Linked DNA regions of Homo sapiens: region 2 is linked to region 1. The links are contacts of gene promoters, found by promoter capture Hi-C in human tissues and cell types (Jung and others, 2019). All regions are on one chromosome and are shown on one strand. Each heading gives the region's core, a stretch centred on a gene start or on the middle of the fragment in contact. The rest is flanking DNA. Distances are from core to core; before and after follow the strand shown.

The links. The method cuts DNA at HindIII sites, captures the fragments that hold promoters and counts their contacts. A contact is called where the count stands out against the background at its distance.
Region 2: a contact is called between a fragment that was not itself captured here and the fragment with the promoter of METTL4 in region 1, in 1 of the 25 tissues and cell types used here (lymphoblastoid cells).

Annotation. Positions count from the first base shown.
Region 1 is chr18:2,569,928-2,573,709 of GRCh38, forward strand. METTL4 (methyltransferase 4, N6-adenosine) reads right to left here and starts at 1,578. Exons shown (of 9, transcript NM_022840.5): 1 at 1,222-1,578. It overlaps NDC80 (NDC80 kinetochore complex component), which reads left to right and starts at 1,630. Exons shown (of 17, transcript NM_006101.3): 1 at 1,630-1,756; 2 at 3,050-3,159. The coding sequence starts at 3,059. RefSeq lists enhancers at 671-1,593, 1,476-1,635. The HindIII fragment of the contact is 12,565 bases long and covers 1-3,782 here.
Region 2 is chr18:3,593,374-3,597,042 of GRCh38, forward strand. All of the region lies in intron 7 of DLGAP1 (DLG associated protein 1), which reads right to left. It overlaps DLGAP1-AS1 (DLGAP1 antisense RNA 1), which reads left to right and starts at 741. Exons shown (of 3, transcript NR_024101.1): 1 at 741-867; 2 at 1,047-1,111; 3 at 3,206-3,669. RefSeq lists enhancers at 381-500, 1,913-2,883, 2,061-2,160, 2,884-3,669 and a silencer at 1,498-1,792. The HindIII fragment of the contact is 6,480 bases long and covers 1-3,669 here.

The DNA of each region.
Region 1 (3,782 bases), core at 328-2,827:
GCCACCTTCTGCTGTTATCATCAGCCTTTTAACTCAGGTTTTGATATGGTGAAAAGAGTCACCAGGGTTATTCAGACACCCCGGCTGTCAGGGTCCTTGGTGGTTAAACCTGGGAAAAGGCCACATGAAGACAACTGTAAGCACACATGATCCCTCTGAATTGTTTTCTTTTCCTGCAATTGTGCTTGCTCTTAAAAATTGAAGTTTTAAACAGGGCTCACATGTGATCATCCTTCCATCTATTGGAGTCTAGCTTGAAATGTGACAACCGGAACCAAAAGAACCTTGAATTTGGTGCCTACTTTGGTTTTGGTGCTGCTGCTTCTCAAGATCCTCAGCAGGGATTAAGAAGTTGGGGTGCACAGCAGGAATATCAGGAAATTGGCAGGCTTGACTTCCTGGCAAATTGCTAGCAGGACCACTAAATGCTGAACTGTACTGTGAATGTATACCGAAATACAAGCAATTATTTCTGTACTAAAGGTGTTTTTAATTTTGTATTTGTGTAAAACCACCTTTGGAAGCAGCAACTATCTAGTCAGAAAAGCAAATGATGTTTCCATTAATCTTTTCTGGGGAAAACATTAGTGCTAAGGATTTAACAATCTGTAGGTAAAGTTTAACCTAACAGTATTCCACAAGGAGACTTTTTATTATCAGACGGTTGCCTAATTTTCATATAATTTTTATATTAATATAATCCTTGGTTCCTCCCCATCCCCTTCATAGGCCACAGCTGAGGTGAAAAGGGTCCTGGAATGGCTAGTGAGAGCTAGAAATTCAGACGGGAAAATTGAAACTCAGAGCAGAAAGGCAAGCTGCCCAAAAATAACAACGCTAGTTAATGGCACAATTGCTACCAGACCCAAGTATCCAGACTTCCTGGAGCTGTGAGATCTTTCATCACCACCACTCTCCAGGTACCGGGCAGTGCCTGTTTCTGGATTCAAACTCACAGCAGCGAGGAAATCCTATTTTAGCAAAGTGATCTACTGTTACTGTTGTTAGTGCACCCCTCTCCTGCGTCTCTGCTTCACATCCACTCCCTCGCCGCCCGCCCCCAAACACTTGGATTCTTCCTAGCCTCTCACAGGTCAGCCACCACCAGAGGACCGTGAGCCTCCGGCAAGTGATCAAATACTGAGCCCGAATTTCGGCAGCCGTACCAACGCAATCCTGGGAGCCCATTCCACCCACTCCGCAGCCCCTCTCCCACCTCACCTCTTCCCTTGTCAGAAAAGCGGACGCCGCCTTCCCAGACTCTCCTCATGAAAACAGCACCCATCTAAATAGTGATCATGAAAAATGCCCCTTCCAGTCCACAGAGAAAAAGCTTTCTCCTTTTCTAAGAGTCCATGGGCGCCGCCATGTTGCTGTACGGAAAAACGTTTCCAGGGCGAGTTGAGCGTTCAGGGCACTCCTCGGCGCTCAAGCTGCCCACAGGTCTTCCGACCTAACTTTAGGGGTCGTGCCAGTCTTCGTAGAGACGGCCACACTGGCCCACAGACCCCAGTTCCTGGGGTGACGCAGCTGGGCGCGACCAGCACGCAGCCTTCCAGCGACGAGGCGGTCGCATGGAAGTTACTGCGCGCGTCGTGCGTAATGACGTCAGCGCCGGCGGAGAATTTCAAATTCGAACGGCTTTGGCGGGCCGAGGAAGGACCTGGTGTTTTGATGACCGCTGTCCTGTCTAGCAGATACTTGCACGGTTTACAGAAATTCGGTCCCTGGGTCGTGTCAGGAAACTGGAAAAAAGGTGACTGAATGACATCGGATTAACTTTGTTTCTGCAGAGCTGTTCTGGAGGAAGAAAGTGATGGCGCCAATGACTTAAATTTAGAGGTCCTGAGGCGATGTTTTGGTGTTTGTTTGCTGTTGGGAGAAGCCTCGAGGCCAAAACTGTGCGAGGCGCTGGTTTCACGGGATCTATTAAATTTCTAGTGGCAACGATTTCCCAAGGAGGAAAGGGGAGGGCCTGGGGGACACTGATGAGGAGTGGAGGCTCGGGAGAGGAAACGGGGAAGAATTGAAGGGGGCGGAAAGAGATGGACAAGAGAGGACTCGTTGGGTGGGTTGCGTCTGAATACTAGTGTAGCTTCTTATGGCCGTGTAGGACTGCGTGTAGAAGTCTTCATCTTAAATCATGAGAGCTACATTCTAAGTGGAGATTAAACGTGGACACACAGGTGTGAGTGGAAAAGTTGAATAGATGAACAAGCGCATATTGAAGAGGAAATAGGCGGCCAAAATCAAGAAGAGTCTAATCAGTGTAAAAGACTAAGGAGTACCCAGAGAAGTAAAAGGATTGTCACCTTCCTGAAAGCCAGGGCAGGACCTGAGAAGGCTGGGTGCAGAGATGAGACAGGATCAAAAGTTTTGTCAATCATGTGTATCCTAGGAGACAAATTTTTTAGCAGATGTGAAGGGAGTGACCTGTTAATGTGGTTTGTAAATGGAGGCAGCCTATAGACCATTTTATGGACCGGATGATTTATCCTTGTTGAAGGGGAGATTGATGCCAAAAGGGCAGTAATTGAGGAAACAATGGGTTAAGGACAGAGCAGGAGAGATTGACATTAGGAAAACAGAATAATTCCATTCTCTGAAACCAAAGAAAAGGAAACATTTTGAGGTGAATAAGAGAATTTGAGGTAATTTTTTTGTCTTCCTATTGAAATAGGCACAGCCAACAGCAGTAATGTGGTCTGGGTAACAGACAGGGCTTTAGCTACCACGGATACCCTTGTGAAGGCAAAAACCGTAACTTACTCGTCTTTGCATCTCCTGCATTGCCTAGCACACTCCCCTATATATATAGTGGGCAGTTAATAAATGTTTATGTTGAATATTTTTAAATGGAATTAAATAGATGTTCCTTGCAAATGAGAACTTCAGTGTACATGAACAAAAAAGAGATACCCCAGGGGAAAGATGATGATCTTGAAGAAACAATGAAACCTGACTGTCTTTCTGTTTAAGGATAAATAGTTGCTTAATGTACCATCTCTGTCTGGAAAGTTTTTTTTAAATACTGAATTCGTGAATGTAGGTCATAAGCATGAAGCGCAGTTCAGTTTCCAGCGGTGGTGCTGGCCGCCTCTCCATGCAGGAGTTAAGATCCCAGGATGTAAATAAACAAGGCCTCTATACCCCTCAAACGTGAGTATTTCCCTTGTGGTTCTAATTTGCATGCTTTATCATCTTAGGCAAAGAAATCATAAGAAATAGTTAATATAAAGATGTAATATGAGTGATGTCTTGGTGAATCTTGTCTGTTCCCAGGGGTACCTAATTTTGGATCAATGAAATCTAAAAGTGGGCATGATACTCTGCTAGGTGTTGTTTGTGTCATTTGTTTCACAAATTTCCAAAGCCAAATGCTTTACCAGGCACCCCCTAAAAGGACTGTTAATTCTTGTTCAGTACTCTCTTATTTTTCTCTTTTATTCTAGAGCTACTTGTTTAAGCAGGCTCTGTGCTGTAACTTAGAGTTCACTGAGATATTTCCAATTAGCAAAGCTTCAATCAAATCAGAGCAAAATTATTTGCTCTCATAAGGTATAATATAGTAGCAGCCTACAAAACACCACTCCTCCGAACTCTTTCCTCAAGATTTGCTGGAAAAATATCTGAAAGAACCTGCTGTCATAAACTATAGTTTTTCATTATGAGTGATTATCTTCCAGATAAGAGAAGGCTATTTGTAAGCCATTGTAGAGCTGTATAATTCTTCTCTAGTACCGAGGTACAAGTTACTTGCTAACTGTTTTTAAATTACTTGG
Region 2 (3,669 bases), core at 737-3,236, 1.0 Mb after region 1:
TTCACATTTAAGGCCACCCAAAGCGTGGCGGTCAGTGGTGAGAAGGCAGAGATCAGAGGCTGTTGGGGTGGGTCATACACCATGATTCCCGGCCCCCCTCTGGGAGATACAAGGTATCCCACAGTCTTCTCTCCCAGTTACATCCTCCACGGAAACCACAAGATGACTCGCTCAACTTTTTCTAAAGTAGAAAAAAATATGCTTGTGTGTGTGTGTAAGGGGAGGAGAGGGGATGTGAATGAAATGGAGGGTAGTGTAATAATTCCTGTAGTCATAAGACACGCCAGTTGGTAGTTGCTAGTATTCCAGACACTTCCTAACGCCAGACAAATGCCCCAAGCCTCGGCATGTCTGGCCTAGAGATCTATTCAACTGATAGCAGCCGCCTCTTCTGGGGAGAGCAGATCTTTCAGAAAGCACTGGCTGCGCTGCTAATCAAACGCAACATTGTTCTCAGCAAGGAGGAAGAATGGAAAGGTTTGTTTCAGAGTCACAACTTTATTTTTTTTAAAAGGCACCCAAGTTGTTTCAACAAGCTGCTACAAAACTTGGGCTTCCTGAGTGGAGGCTGTTTTGCACAGTGCATGTACTGTACAAAAATCCAGGCAGGGAGGGGTCAGAGAGTTCGTCATTAAAGAAAAAAAAAAAAAAAAGCCCCAGGCACTTGATGCCTGGAAATGATGTCAGACGCAGCCACTCCTCTGTTAGAACTACAGCCAAACAATGCGCAGGCAATCCACAGCAGCTGCCCCTGCAAATGTCAGCGCCAGCCCAGTCAAAAGAGCTTGAAACCTACCAAGCCGGAGGACTGTGCTGTGCCTCTCTCGCCCACATTTTCCCCAAGCACTCTCAGGAACCTGGCAACAGGTAACGTGGCAACCTTTGACTTATAAAAGGGCAAGTGGCACAATCTCAGGGAACAAATGGACTTTTTTTTAAAGCCAGCATCTCCCCCACCACTCCCACACCCCCCTCCCTCCCTCCCTCCCTCCCAACCAAAAGTCTGTAAAAAACAAAACATTGACGCGGGCAGTCCTACTCTCTAGTGTCCCCTTGTGGCCAAGCCTGGAACATCACATCTGTACGTTGCAATCTGTGGATCAGCTACGAGGTAAGTCGCTCTTTGGAAGGGGTGGAGGTCTTTGCTGGACTTGTCTTCCGAAAAGTATGAAGAGTGGAAGTCAAGGCTCAGAATGGCGTCCTTTTTTACCTTATCACCTTAACAAAAACTTCACCTTAGCTGCAGGGTTAAACCTCTGGGTTGGGGCTGGGGATTTTCGTTGTTGTTGTTTTAAAGCAGCAGCCAAGGCCATGTTTTTTAAGGTGGTGAGTTAAACGGAGCAAGAGCTGCGGTAGCCTTTTCCACCCAATCTCTTTCTTCACATCCTAGTCACAGCCAAGGGTAGGGTGGATGGCAGTGAGGATAAACAGCCCAGAAACAGGATTCCTGCAGGGTGGGACTGGCATTTTCCATTTTTATCTGAAGTTGTACTTTGAATGCAGACACCTTTCTCTCAGGCCAGAAGCACTGCTCATTTGTATTGCTGGCTTCCAGTTAGCCTATTTGCAAGGATTACTTAGGATTTCCAGACTGCAGGCCCAGCTACCCAGAGAGTGTGCCTCAAAGCCCCACCTCAAAGCTTTTATCTCTATGTGGCGGGAAACACCCACGAAAATGCCAACGGCGGTATTTGTAACTTGCCTTCTTCCTTTTGGGAACTGCTTTCTGCAGCTCTCTCTGCGTTAGAGGAATAGCTACAGCTGGGAGCTGCTCCAGCCACGCAGGAGGAGAGGGCACCCATTGAGAGGCGGGCACCCCTTCTGTCTCCCTCTGGCTATGTTAACTGGAAACTAGGAAAGGGGTTCAGATCAAAGTAACTGCTGTCTTCAGAAAGTTCCATTCATTAACTAAGTTAGCGGAAATTAAATGGTGTTTGGAGGAAGGTCATTTCAGAAGGCCCAGGGCCAGAGGCTGAGGTCTAAAACTTCTAATCTGGACTTCTATTGAAGTTTGGCAGTAAGTTAAACAGGAAGTTGAAGGCTACCATATGTAAATCCAGTTGTTGCCTGAAATCAGTCATTTCAAGGGAGTATCTTGAAAGGACACAGACTGGGAAACAGGCATGAGAAAAAAAAAAGGAAGTAGACAGACATTTGGCTAGTATGTGCCTGGACCACTTAACACTAAAGATTAGAAACCTAGGGCTCTGAGTAAGAATCATTTGACCAGTAGCTAAAGTGAGTCATGGCCTGCACAGAACTAGGGCACACATGTTGAAGTCAGGATGTTGAGAACATCAGGCTTACTAATTTGCAAGGCAGGAGTGCTGCTTCCAGTAGGGAATGTGATCAGGATTTCACGGCTCATTTTCCCAGCCTTTCCAACAGGTGCAATCAAGTCATCCGTGTACACAAGTGACTGCCCTGTTACATCTGTTAGGATTAAATTTCCATTTGTTCCATTACTTTATATGAAGTGATTTCTACTGCTGAGTCAGACAGAACACTTCCTCTTAGACCTAGGGACTTTTTTCAACATTTTTAACAATGTGTGTGTTTTTCAAAATGTGTCCCAACCAGGTCTGCAGGTCTTCCTGGGTTGAATGGACTGTTTACAGAAGGGGAAGATTCAGGCCCAAGGTCAGGGTTACAGAATTATATAAGGTTTCCTGTTTGGGCAGCTGGTCTAGCAACACCTCTGGTTGGGGCAGACTGGGTCTTGTTGAGAGATAGCATGCCCAGGAGGCTAGGGCAGGGAGAGTGCCAGGAGCAGGAAAGAACATTTTTCTTTTCTTTTTTTTTTTAAGACCGTGTCTTACTCTGTCACCCAGGCTGGGGTGCAGTGGTGCGATCTCGGCTCACTGCAACCTCCGCCTCCCAGGTTCAAACGATTCTCCTGCCTCAGCCTCTCGTGTAGCTGGAATTACAGCCGCCCGCCACCATGCTTAGCTTATTTTTATATTTTTAATAGAGACGGGGTTTCACCATGTGGGCCAGGCTGATCTTGAACTCCTGACCTTAGATGATCTGTCTGCCTCGGCCTCCCAAAGTGCTGGGATTACAGGCTTGAACCACCAAGCCCGGCCTGACATTTTTCTTTTAAATCTTTTATCAACCAGCTTTCATTTCTTGTCAGATGTCACTTTTCAGCAACCTGTTGCTATATTCTCTGTTAGGAGAACTTTTTTTTTTTTTTTCTGGCCAGACTGAGAGAAAGGAATGAAAGGATGGAAGAATTACAAGATCAGGCACTGCTGTCTGTCTGTTCCACGGATGTAACCACAGCACACGCGTGGCTCACGGTACTAGTGTGATAAATGCTTGTTACATGAAGGCGTGAACAGGGATGAGAAGAGACTTCCTGGAGAAACAAAAGGACTAACAATCAGGAAGGGGAGGTGATCGGGGCAGGAGTAAAGTGGACACCTCAGCAAAGCCATTCGCTGTGATCTCTGATTGTGCAGTGTCATGTCCTGTCACCAGAGCCCCCTCGTGTTTGATGTTGGCCAATGCCGCCAGCATGATCTAGCAGGCCAAATCCTAATCTACCATTCTCTGACACCAGCTGGTCCCCTGGGTCGTCCACCCGATGTCCCCCATTCTCCCCACTTGGCCTCCCCCACAGGCTCTCGGCAAAGGACCGTGGGAGGCACCTGTGACACTGCCCTT